Regions from separate parts of the Homo sapiens genome. Here regions 2 and 3 are each linked to region 1. Evidence: promoter capture Hi-C in 16 types of primary human blood cells and fetal thymus (Javierre and others, 2016). All regions are on one chromosome and are shown on one strand. The core of a region is centred on a gene start or on the middle of the fragment in contact, and the rest is flanking DNA. Distances in the headings are between cores, read along the strand shown. Region 1 holds the start of NFYC (nuclear transcription factor Y subunit gamma). Region 2 overlaps CTPS1 (CTP synthase 1). Region 3 has its middle 24 kb from the start of CTPS1.

Region 1 (4,198 bases), core at 574-3,073:
TTGGGACCTCCTATTCACAAACCAGCAACTGAAGGGTTAACACCTAGCACAGACGTATACCTCCAGGATCCTAGCTGCATTTCTAATTCTGCTTCATCTATGCTTGAGCACTACTTGTTGTTAAATATACTTAATATCACTCTTAGCTAATTTCCTCTATGTAGATTTTTATTTATTTCTGAGGGCAACCCAACTTCCAGGCTCTTGGAAGGAAATAGACTGCAGCCCCTAAGTGTGATCAATACTTAATTATAACAATAATCACTAATAATAACTTGTGCTGCTTCATTGTAACTAAATGTACACTTTTACATTTTTTGGCAAGCATAGTATATGCAATAAGTACTCAATAAACATCTGTAGAGAGACTTATTTAGCTTTTTTCCATTAGCTACATCTGTCTCTACAATCTCAACATACTATTCTCTTGAATCTGTTTTTAATTTTATGCCATTTCTCATGTCTGAAAATGTCATTATAAGTAACTTTTTTTTTTTCTGAGACAGGGCCTCGCACTGTCGCCCATGCTAGAGTGCAGCGAGACACTCGTAGCTCTTACCAGTAACTTCTTTATAACACTTTTGCAATTTACGAAGCACTCTCACATTATTTCATTCACTCTCCCCAACATTACCAAAAGTTAGGAATTAGATCTTTTTACAGATGAAGGAATTGAGACTCCCTGAAGTCAAGTGTCTTATAGTTAGGTTTTGTTCATTCATTCATCAAATAGAGTGCCTGATGTGAGATTTATTGAAACTGGATTTGAAAACAATTTTCCTGAATTCAAGTCGAGGGTTTACTCCACTATTCTCAATTACTTTATCACCAGGGTTATAAACCCAAAGGAAGTGAGTAACAACAGTGTGATTTTATTGAGGACCCATGCAACACTAGTCTCAGAAAGGCTCCAGTGTCATTTGTAAAATTCAAGGTTACCATCAGCAGAGGCAGTCATTCCTCTCTGCGCTTGTTACCTAATGCACTAACTCTCACTGTAGGTAATTCCATTCAAGACACATTTGATGACTATACCTACAGGTTTTGAAGTTATTCGGATGGGGTTTTGACACTTACTAGCTGTGGGGACTTAGATCAAGTTACTTAACCTTTTTGAGCTTCAGTTTTATCATTTGTAAAATGGATACAATCCTGATGCCTTTGGACCAAGTGGTCACGGAAATGAAAGAGATAAGTATGAAAAAATCCATGCTCATAGTAGCTGTGGTTTCCAACTGCGTGATAAAACTTTAAAATCTGCATTCAAATAAGAACAACTATGTCGACGTAAGGTTACAAGCTAACTATTCTTGGTAAGTACTGTTCTTTATTCTAGAGGACATCACTTTACAGTTTGGTGCTAAATGCTCTTTTATGAATTTAAGGTGCCAGTAGCTGTCTACTTGAACGGCATGCTTAATCTGGAACGCCATGTCGACCTTCATCCCCCAGTTCTTTCTCCCCAAATTAAAAACACAAATACACACACACGCCCCTACTTAGTTCCTAAAACTCAAGGGCACGCGCACACACCTACTTATTTCCTAAAATTCAAGCTCGCACCAAGGAGATCCACAAGGATAGGCAGGGTGGTGGAGGTCACTGGGCAGCGCCTCCGGATCCCCCGAAAGGGGGCGGGGTCAAAACTCAGATCTCGAGCTCCCGAAAGGGGGCGGGGTTAAAACTCTCAGATCTCATTCCGCCTCCCTCTGTCGTCGCCCCTTCCCAATTCTCGCGAGACCTCAAGGAGCACAGCTTCTGCGCACCGCACGATACTGGGAGTCCAGGCGCCAAGGGAGGGGGAAGGGAAAAGGGGAAACGGTGCAAACGGCGTGGCCGCCATCTTGCTTGTGCCCCCGCTTCGCGCGCGCTCCGTTCTCCGTGACGCACACTTCCCCCTCCCCTCCGCCGCGCCTGGGCCTCTGCATTGCCCGACTCCGTAGGAGCGCGGGGGCGGCTCCTGCTCTTCCTGGACTCCTGAGCAGAGGTGTGTGAGTGTGCGGGAGTTTCTGTGCGAGGGTGATAGGGAAGCGGCGGCGGGGGGAGGGGCAGCGCTTCCCGCCTTCGCCAGAGACCTCACTTCCTCGCGCGGCCGCTGCTGTAGCTCGGTCCGTCCTGCCCGCCGCCATGTTGTGCTCTTGCCTGGCCCGCTGCTGTCGCCGCCGCCGCGCTCGTGGGGTCCGTGTGCCTCGTCGGCCCGGCCCGCGGGCTTTCTCCCATTGGCGGAAGGCGACGGCGGGGGGGCTCGCTCGTGATTGGTCGGTGGCGGGGAGGCCGCGGACCTGGCACCTTATTGGACGCGCCAGCTCCGGTCTAGGGGGTGATGAAGGAATCTGAGGCTGCGGGGATGCGCGCGTCTTGGGCTAGGGCGGCTGGGGCAATGACCCCCTGCGGCGCAGGCGTGGGGTTGCGGCGAGAGGGCGAGCCTAGAGGCTTTAAGGGGGAAGAGAGGGTGATGGCCTGGCAGGTACTTTGGGGGTAGCTTAGGCCATGGCCTGGGAATGGGGGACACTCACTTTCAGAGGTGCTTTTCCTGGTACATGCATGGCCCAAGATTGGGGTGTGCAGGCCCTCAGGGTTCCAGGCTTGGAAACACCGAAACCCAAGTGACAGGCTGAGAGTCTTCGAGATCCAGGGTTGCTAATGTGACCCAGTTTGGAAGTGGCCCTGAAGTCCACGGTGTGAGTGTATGGTGTAGGAAGAAAGGCATCAGGGCTAGGGGCATAGCTGAACGGTAGAATCGGATCAGGGATTTTGCTGGAGAGTGCAAGCATTCAAACACTGAGGTTTTGGTGGAGCCCTGGAGTCCAGAGTCAACGGACCTGGGATGTGATGTGAGGAGCAAGTAAACCGAGAGAGGAATGCTATTGAGAAGTGTGCTCTGTCCGAGCCTAGGAAGCACAGCATTAAGTAGTATCAGATTTAAAGTGACAAAATCTGATATAGGAAGCATTTTAGGGGACATTTTCGGACTTGGGAAGTGTATTAATAGAACAGTTATACATTATTGAGTCTCAGGACCATACAAGTAGTTTTGAGATGTTGTATATGAAATTTGCTGCTCTAGGAAGGATACAGGTCATGGCTGAGTTTCCAAAGCCACATTAGCAAATATTAGGTAGTTGGTAGTTATTTGTTGAGTAAATATTGTTAGGTTCCCCTTTAAGGGAAAGGGAGCTAGCCAGAAATTTTCGGTCTTGGTTTATTTCCTTGTATATGTGCCTAAAAAGTATACCCATTCCCATGTGTACTTTGAATTTTTTGTTTGTTTTTTCAAATAAGCAGCTCCAAACCAAAAAAAAGCCCATGCATAGCTTCTTAAGGAACAGGACTTGTCAACACTTTCTGGTTCATATTCAAAAAGTTTTTATTCCAATCCAGAGTCGTTCCAGTCAACTTGTTGGGAATATGTTCTTTTCCACTGAATCTGAATCGTAGTTACTTGTATTGCTTTACATTTGCTCGTCCCAGTGTGTGAGGGCCATGGAAACACATTTATGTTAAACATCTGTGTTTTCCTAATTTGTTTTTCCTTGTTTTTGTTAGGTAGTCCTTTTTAGCTTTAGATGGTACTCTTCTGTTTTCATACCAATTTCAAGAAACTCCTAGGGTTTTCAAATTTAGTTTTATGTGAATGCAACTACATTTTCTGGAGAAGGGAATTGATAAGTAGCAGAGGAAGAGAATTGCTATTTTGGGGCATATTTTAACTCCAATAGGTAGGCATTATCGTCCCCATATTGCAGATGAGGAAACTGAGGATCAGAGAGTTTAAGTAGCTTGTCTGGTGTCACTCAGTAAGTGGTTGAGCTAGAATTCAAACCCTGGTTGCCTGATGCCAAAGCCTGTAATTTTATCTGCTACATCAGCTATCAACATAAACCTGACTAATGAAACTTCCAGATAATTTTGTATTTCCAAGTGGATCATCTACTTTGATTTCTGGGTGTTTAGAGTGTATAAAATGGAAGACTATAATTCTTAAGAATTTCTTGTGCTGCTTAAGGATTCAGACCACAGAATTGTAACCATAGAGAATATGGGTTCTTCAGCTAGGTATTCAAATCATATCCCTTGGCTTCTATTGTGAAAGGGAAGATTTACCAAGTAAATTGCTGCATTTTTTCCTGAATCCAGGTAGATAATGGGGAAAAATATGTACAGAAACTTGAAGAATCTGCATTCCTTAAAACCAAGC
Region 2 (4,198 bases), core at 474-2,973, 310 kb after region 1:
AGAACAGTTGAATATTACGGAGGTGTACACCTTCTTCTGAGTGTCTTGGTCAGTACGGCACACAGAGCTGATGAAGAAAGGCCCCCTTAGGGGAGCATTTTAAGCCAAGAGGTAAGATAAATTGTTAATATTAATATATGTATTTAAAATTTTGGGCTGGGCACAGTGGCTCATGCCTGTAATCCTAAAACTTTGAGAGGCTGAGGTGGGAGGATTGCTTGAGCCCAAGAGTTCAAGACCAGCCCAGGCAACATAGGGAGACCCTGTTTCTACAACAAAAACAACAAAACCAGCTGGGTGTGGTCCCAGCTCCTTGGGAGATCAAGGCTGCAGTGAGCTGTGATCACACCACTGCACTCCAGCCTGGGTAACAGTGTGAGACCCTGTCTCAAGAAAAAAAAATTGTGAACAACTCAGTACCAAAGATAGTGCAGTGGCAGTATTACAATTATGTATACTATCTTTTTCACTTGCAATAAGCATGTTCTTAAGTTACTAAGAAAAGTCCATAGTTTCATATGCAGTTTCTAAGTTGATAGTGTTTACATACAATTCATTGTCACAGTAGCACAATGTATGGGGTTAATTCATGGCTTCAGTGTCTTGGTAATGGCCCGTTAGGCGATTATTGCAAGTTGGACTGGTAGAAAAGGGGAATTGCCTTTGTGGTTTGTTCTTTTGTGCAGTGGAGTGCTGGTTCCAGGAGGATTTGGTGTTCGAGGAACAGAAGGAAAAATCCAAGCAATTGCCTGGGCTCGGAATCAGAAAAAGCCTTTTTTGGGTAAGGAGCTCTGCAGTGCAGTCTTCACTTAAGAGTAGGAAAGAGTGGGGAACGGTGCCACGTGGGAGCCTATGAACAAAGTGGGGGGATTACTGAAACATGCTGTCTTTGTGGATAGGAGCTCAAGTAGAAGCCTTCATGTTTTCTCTTTAGAGACAAATTCAGTCTTGGAAAGCTTATTTATGCTTATGAGCTACATGTAGATGTCGTGGAATTTTGAGAGAATGAATTGTGAATTCCTGTCCATTTAATGAACCCAGCTGTTTGTAGCACACGTGAGGTTGAGTTTTATATCTGCTCACTTGGCACAACAGCTGACTGTAATTGGACAAAATGATTTTGCATGCCTCCTGGTGCTGTACATTTTAGTAATTTTCAACTTGAACAATTATAAATAAAAACTTAATGAGAGAGGGTAAGAAAACTTGAATTTTAAAGTACTGAGGCTAGGCACGGTGGTTCACACCTGTAAACCCAACACTTGTGGAGGCTGAGGCAGGAGGGTTGCTGGATCCCAGAAATTTGAGGCTGTAGTGAGCCAAGATCTCTCCACTGCACTCCAGAGTGGGCAACAGCAAGACCCTGTCTGGGGGGAAAAAAGTACTGAATAGAATATCACTTACTTCTAAAATCGGATAACTTTGCAAATCTAGAATTTTCATCTACTTTACATGCAGTTTTTGAAATCTAATACAAGTAAAGTGTAACAGCAGAGAGTACTTGTTCATAGCAGGAAGTTATGAGTTTGCAATTATAATTCTCCAAATAAAGGACACAAAGGCCATTGCAGAGGCTGCTGGGAAAAGTAGGAGCTGCCTTTTCAATGGAGTTTTGTTTGTTTTTTCCCCCCGACTGGAAGGCGTGTGCTTAGGGATGCAGTTGGCAGTGGTTGAATTCTCAAGAAACGTGCTGGGATGGCAAGGTAAGCGTGCATTAAGACACTCATTCAATTCCCGCTTGTGTATTTCTGGAGGATATGAGGCCTGTTGCCGCCTGGGTGATCAGGAGCTTTGGAGAAGGGCAGGCCTGGGTTCCTAGCACCTCATGGTGTGCCGTAAGGGAGCTGCCTTGCCTCTTGAGGAACAGCACGGCTCCTCCATGCAGGAAGGAGGGAGCACAGCCAGACTCCCTCCTTTGCCTTCTGCCTCTGTGTTCCTGTTCTTGAGATTCTGTCACTTTGATCACCGTGGCCACCATCCTGAAGCTGGTGCCTGGTGTGAAGTCCTTGTCCTAAGTGAGGCTTGGGCAGTTATTATGAGAACCTGGGCTCTGGAGCTATTGAAACTGGGCTCAGATTCCAACCTTACCGCTTATGGGTGATTTTAAGCAATTTACTTAGCCTTTATGGGCCTCCGTTTTTTCTGTAAAATGGGAGTAATAAAGGTACGTACTTCACATGATTAAGGGAGATAATGTATGTAAATAGTCTCTAGTAGTGCCTGGAAAATAGGGAAATGCTCAGATAATATCAGCTCTTCGCCTAGCTGTGTATTACTATGTGACAGACCTCCCTAAAGCTCAGTGGCTCCCAACAGCAGTGACTTCTCATCTCAGTATTCTGTGGTTTGGCTCAGTGCCTGGGTTTCAGCTGCACGTGGTGTACTATCTGAGATGGCACACTCCTGCCTTGTGTTCAGCTGTGAGCTCGGCCCAGCCGGGACGTCAAGATGCTGTCTCCACCTAGTGGCTCATCATTCATTAATCCAGCCCAAGCTTCCTCACACAGGGTGGGCAGCTGGACTCCAAAATGACAGGCCTGTTATGCAGGCACTTATCAGGCCTGCTGATGTCCCGTTGGCCAAAACAAGTCACGTGGCCAAGCCCCGAGCCGGCAGGGGAGGAGAACACACATGGGTGTGAAGACTGAGCATGCTGCACTGGGGCCACCCTGGAATGGTCCACCACAGCCCATTTATTCTCTGTAGCCCACCCGACAAATACTAGATTTTCAGAAAGACCTTGTAAATTCTGTGGAAAATAAAGTAACCTGAAGGAATGTAAAAGCAGTTTGACTTTATAAAGAACAAGTGACTCTGGTGGCCAGCATATGGTTTAGGGCTGGGTTTCATTCACCCTTTCCCTGAGAGGCTGCTTCACAGTGACCTGGCGGTGTGGCTTAGTTTGGTAGACAGCATGCCCTTGAGTGCTGGCTTCTGAGTCCTGAGAGGCACTGTCTTATCACCCGCCACCCCAGAGCTGGCTTTCTGGTCTCCCTGGATCCTTCACAGCCCCAGACCTCTGCCTCTCACTTAGGTTCCCAAATGGGTAGGTGCTTTGGTGATGAGCTTACACTTCAGTTGAGACTGGACCCTGGTTCAGGCCAGGAGGAGAACAGTGCCCAGCGTTCACATAGTACCAGGAACTTGGTCCTTTGCCTTTTGGTCTTTAGTGGTTTTGCTTTGGTTAGACGGTAAGTTCAATGAAGGTTAGAAAGGTTGAGTTGAAATCAGTTCATTTCTGACTGAGCTATTGAGTGAAACAGTTGAGTAGGGCTTTGTATTAGCTGCTGAAGATGAAAGAAGTATAGAAGAAATAGTACTTGTTTATCTCAGAGAGACAAGAGTCTGAAACATTAAGACAATATAAAAACTTGGCTGGGCATGGTGGTTCAGGCCTGTAATCCCAGCACTTTGGGAGGCTGAGTTGGGTTAATCACTTGAGGCCAGGAGGTCGAGACCAGCCTGGCCAACATGGAAAAACCCCATCTCTACTAAAAATACAAAAAATAACCAGGTGTGGTGGTGTGCGCCTGTAATCCCAGCTACTTGGGAGGCCAAGACATGAGAATCACTTGAATTCTGGAGGTGTAGGTTGCAGTGAGCCAAGATTGTGCCACTGCACTCCATTCTGGGTGACATAGTGAGACTCTTGTCTTAAAACACAAACAAACAATATAAGAACTGTCACAGGCGGGGCGCAGTGGCTCACGCCTGTAATCCCAGCACTTTGGGAGGCCGAGGCAGGCAGATCACCTGAGGTCAGGAGTTCGAGACCAGCCTGACCAACATGGAGAAACCCCGTCTCTACTAAAAATACAAAGTTAGCTGGGCATGGTGGTGTATACCTGTAATCCCAGCTACTCGGGAGGCTGAGACAGGAGAATCGCTTGAGACCTGGAGGTGGAGGTTTTGGTGCCGAGATCACGCCATTGCACTCCAGCCTGCCCACACTTGTTGCCCACAAGTGTGAAATTCTGTCTCAAAAAAAAAAAACTGTCAAAGATACAGTATCTAATTAAAAATTACTAGGTTATGCCATTAGTTTTGATTTTCCCATTTTGTACTGATTGACTTTCCAGAGAGTTATACTTAACGTAAAAAAATTCACGTGTGTGTGGGTTGAGTATTTTATGTCTTAAAAATGCTATTTATTGCCGGTCTGGTGGCTTGCACCTGTAATCCCAGTACTTTGGGATGC
Region 3 (4,198 bases), core at 780-3,279, 260 kb after region 1:
TTCTTTTTTTTTTTTTTTTTGATGGAGTTTCAAGCCCAGGCTGGAGTGCAATTGCATGATCTCAGCTCACTGCAACCTCTGCCTCCAGGGTTCAAGCGATTCTCCTGCCTCAGCCTCCCGAGTAGCTGGGATTACAGGCATGTGCCACCATGCCTGGCTAATTTTGTATTTTTAATAGAGACGGGGTTTCTCTATGTTGGTCAGGCTGGTCTCGAACTCCTGACCTCAGGTGATCCGTCTACCTCGGCCTCCCAAAGTGCTGGGATTATACGCATGAGCCACCACACCCGGACAAGGCCTTTCTTCTGGCAGGCATTAATCAATTCCAGTGCAGGGGATACAGAGGAGAATAAAACAAGACGAAGTTCCTGGCCTCTGAGCTTATATTATGGTAGGAGAGAATGACAATAAACAAAATACTGTGTATTAAATACTGTTAAGCCAAGCTGTGCTAAATTGCATAGAGAAATTAAGCAGGGTAAAGGATAGAAGTTGATGGAGTGGTTCTATTTCAGGCAGTGTGGTTAAGAAAATACTCACTGATGGCCGGGCGCAGTGGCTCACACCTGTTATCCCAGCACTCTGGGAGGCCGACGCGGGTGGATCATGAGGTCAAGAGTTCGAGACCAGCCTGGGCAACATGGTGAAACCCTTTCTCTACTAAAAATACACAAATAAGCTGGGCATGGTGGCACACACCTGTAATCCCAGCTACTCAGGAGGCTGAGGCAGGAGAATCACATGAATCCCGGAGGTGGAGGTTGCAGTGAACCAAGATAGGGTCACTGCAATCTAGCCTGGGCGACAAATCGAGACTCGTCTAAAAAAAAAAAGGAAAAAAGAAAATACTCACTGATAAGGTGGCATTTGAGCAAAGACACAAACAAAGTGCAGATGTGAACCGTGCATGTGTCTGGGGGGAGGTATTCCTGCAGCGTGCAAAGTCCCTGTGATAGGAACGTGCTTAGCATGCTCTAGAAACTGCAAGTTGGCTGGTGTTTTAGGTCAGGCGATCTGGAAGCAGACTCTGAGAGGATTCCTGTATAAGTGATTGATTAGTGCTCCCTTAGGGGTAGGGTGGGGAATAACCAGCAAGGGTGTAGGGGAAGCAGGGCAGGGAAGAGGAGGAAGCCAAGCAAGCGTGTGATTTCATGCGAAATCCGGAGGAAGGTAGTCTCACCCTGATCCCACGGGGGTGGGGCGGGGTGGGGTAAGGTAGAGTCGGGTAGGAAGGGGAGCTCTGGCATATAAGTTACACCTCAGTGTTTGTTCCAACCTAAGGCAAGGTTGCTGAGACTTTCAAACTCTCCTCCCATTAACATCTGGCTAGGGTCATCCCAGGGAGCTTTTTCAAGTAAATTCTCAGGCACTTCCTCTGGGCAAAGTGGGCTCCAGTAGCGCCCTATCCAAAGAGCCATAGGTACTAGGTACTAGGTGTTGGGTACTAAGTACTAAATGTTAAGAGAAAAAGCTTAGCAAAGTTGGGGGCACACACAACATGAAGGAAAAGGGGATCTTAAAAGGATCTGGGTAAAATGCTAACAGTACCTGTGAAAGTCAGTGAGGTAGAAGAACAGAAGTCAGAGTAGAATCGTAAGAGAAGAGATAGTCAGCTGAGGCCAGATCAGGTAAATCAATATCTGATTTCACTCAAATAGGCAATGTGCTGAGCTAAAAAATCCACAGCTCTCCTTGCATCTAGGGGCGGCCAGTTCCACATACTCAAATGTCGATAAAAGTCAGCTGGAGGCACCTAAGAAAGCATTCATTTCCTGATAGAGGCACCACATTTTCTTCCTTGCCACTCCCTTCTTTTTGCCTGGAATGTGAACCCGAGGCTGGGGGTAAAGCAGTCATCTTGTAACCATGAGGTCACAGTGAGGCAAATGTGAGAGTAAAAGCTTTGTACTAAGCATGGTGGAGGGGCCTGAGACCCTGGTGATGTTGCAGAGAGGCTGCACTAGCCTGGGACGCCTGTCTCTAGACTTAATATCTTTTTTTGAAAGTTAACAAATCCCTATTCGATGAAGTCTGGCTTTCTGTTACATGCCAGTGGGCATCATCCCTAACCAATACTTCCTCCAAAGAGTTATAGATCTACACAGCCTCCTACATTCTGTGAGAGCACTTGTTCCCACTCAAATGCGCTGGACGTTATAAAGCTTTTTCCAGTTTGCCAATCTTCCACGTGACAAATCCTATCTTGTTTTCTTTCGGTTTTTGTTGTTTTGAGACGGCGTCTCACTCTGTTGCCCCGGCTGGAGTGCAATGGCGCGATCTCGGCTCACTGCAACCTCCGCCTCCCGGGTTCAAGCCATTCTCCTGCCTCAGCCTCTCAAATAGCTGGGATTACAGGCGCGCGCCACCACGCCCGGCTAATTGTTGTATTTTCAGTAGAGACGGGGTTTCACCATGTTGGTCAGGCTGGTCTCAAACTCCTGACCTCAGGTGTCACCACCCGCCTCGGCCTCCCAAAGTGCTGGGATTACAGGCATAAGCCACCACACCCGGCCTATCTTGTTTTATTGTGAATATGAGTTATGAGTGAGGTTGAGTATTTTTATATGTTTTTTGTGCATTTGTGTTTACGTGAAACTACATGTTTCTGTGCCTTGCCCACTTCCATTTGAAGGCCAAAAAAAAAAAAAAAAAAAAATCACAGCGGGCACTGGCATCTTAAGGGTTCTGAGAATTCCTGCAGCATGCAATGTGCATTTTAACTTTAGCATGGAATTCTCCAAAATTATTTGACCACATAACATATTTTGTCTTGGAAACCCTATTTCTATTAGTTAGGACTGAGCTTTCTAACTGGCATGCCATAAATGAGCCACAAGCATGTTGACCTATTCAACTACTCAAAATTTGACAAGAGCCAAAACATATTTGAACACTGTTAGATAGCTTCCTCTATGAACTTCCTGAATTAGGTAATAATTATTTTGGTGGTTAAGATTTTATTCAAAGCACTTGCCGCCAGAAAGACTTTGTCATGGCCACATTGTCCCACACTCCACAGAATAGTCTGACTATGATCCTAGTCATGATTTGTTTATCTGTTTATCAGCTGCAACTGATAAATTCTTCTTTATTTTGCAAGTACATATAAAATATTGGCTTTTCTTTAACTTAATAATTTTCTCTTATTTTTCTAACATAAAAGTATGGATATTATTATTTAATGTTATGTGTTTCCCTATAGAAAATGAGTTATTTTGGGCAGGGCATGGTGGTGCACGCCTGTAATCCCAGCACTTTGGGAGGCCGAGGCAGGCAAATCACGAGGTCAGGTGTTTGAGACCAGCCTGCCCAACACGGTGAAACCACATCTCTACTAAAAATACAAATATTAGCAGGGCATGGTAGCACACACATGTAGTCCCAGCTACTTAGGAGGCTGAGGCAGGAAAATTGCTTGAACCCAGGAGGTGGAGGTTGCAGTGAGCCAAGATCACACCACTGCACTCCAGCCTGGGCAACAGAGCAAGACTCTGTCTCAAAAAAAAAAAAAGAAAGAAAGAAAAGAAAATGAGTTATGTTGTTAATTTTCTCAATTGCTGTTTCTTGATTGGGGGAGTGTCTGTTCATTTTTAATGTTAACAATGAATACAGTTTGTTTTTTATTTTTTTATTTTTTTTGAGATGGAGTCTGGCTCTGTCACCCAGGCTGGAGTGCAGTGGCATGATCTCAGCTCACTGCAGCTTCCACCTCCCGGGTTCAAGTGATTCTCCTGCCACAGCCTCTCAAGTAGCTGGAATTACAGGCATGCACCACAATGCCCAGCTAATTTTTGTATTTTTAGTAGAGTCAGAGTTTGGCCATGTTGACCAGGCTGGTCTCGAACTTCTGACCTCAAGTGATCTGCCTGCCTCGGCCTCTCAAAGTGCTGGGATTACAGGTGTGAACCACCGCGCCTGGACGCCTACAGTTTGATTCTTGATGGAATTTCAGGATGAGTTATTGTTTGCTTTTAAAAATGAAAAAATGGGGCCGGGCGCGGTGGCTCACGCCTGTAATCCCAGCACTTTGGGAGGCCGAGGCGGGTGGATCACGAGGTCAGGAGGTCGAGACCATCCTGGCTAATACGGTGAAACCCCGTCTCTACTAAAAATACAAAAAAAAATTAGCCGGGCGTGGTAGCGGGCGCCTGTAGTCCCAGCTACTCGGGAGGTTGAGGCAGGAGAATGGCGTGAACCC

What was found. Contacts are between HindIII fragments. The CHiCAGO score rates a contact against its expected background, and 5 or more counts as called.
Region 2: a fragment that was not itself captured here is called in contact with the fragment with the promoter of NFYC in region 1 in 1 of 17 cell types (erythroblasts); the score reaches 5.1 in erythroblasts.
Region 3: a fragment that was not itself captured here is called in contact with the fragment with the promoter of NFYC in region 1 in 1 of 17 cell types (endothelial precursors); the score reaches 5.3 in endothelial precursors.

The regions. Positions count from the first base shown.
Region 1 is chr1:40,689,881-40,694,078 of GRCh38, forward strand. It overlaps NFYC (nuclear transcription factor Y subunit gamma), which reads left to right and starts at 1,824. Exons shown (of 10, transcript NM_014223.5): 1 at 1,824-1,987. It overlaps NFYC-AS1 (NFYC antisense RNA 1), which reads right to left and starts at 2,381. Exons shown (of 1, transcript NR_024567.1): 1 at 1-2,381. It also overlaps a transcript of RIMS3 not described here. RefSeq lists a silencer at 2,232-2,331 and enhancers at 2,572-2,741, 2,762-2,811. The HindIII fragment of the contact is 4,450 bases long and covers 1-4,195 here.
Region 2 is chr1:41,001,474-41,005,671 of GRCh38, forward strand. CTPS1 (CTP synthase 1) reads left to right here. Exons shown (of 19, transcript NM_001905.4): 11 at 687-781; 12 at 1,641-1,703. Among named protein-coding and RNA genes, the nearest start is that of SLFNL1-AS1, 11 kb to the right of the region's middle. RefSeq lists an enhancer at 2,518-2,667. The HindIII fragment of the contact is 1,538 bases long and covers 955-2,492 here.
Region 3 is chr1:40,953,692-40,957,889 of GRCh38, forward strand. No RefSeq gene overlaps it. Among named protein-coding and RNA genes, the nearest start is that of CTPS1, 24 kb to the right of the region's middle. The HindIII fragment of the contact is 261 bases long and covers 1,900-2,160 here.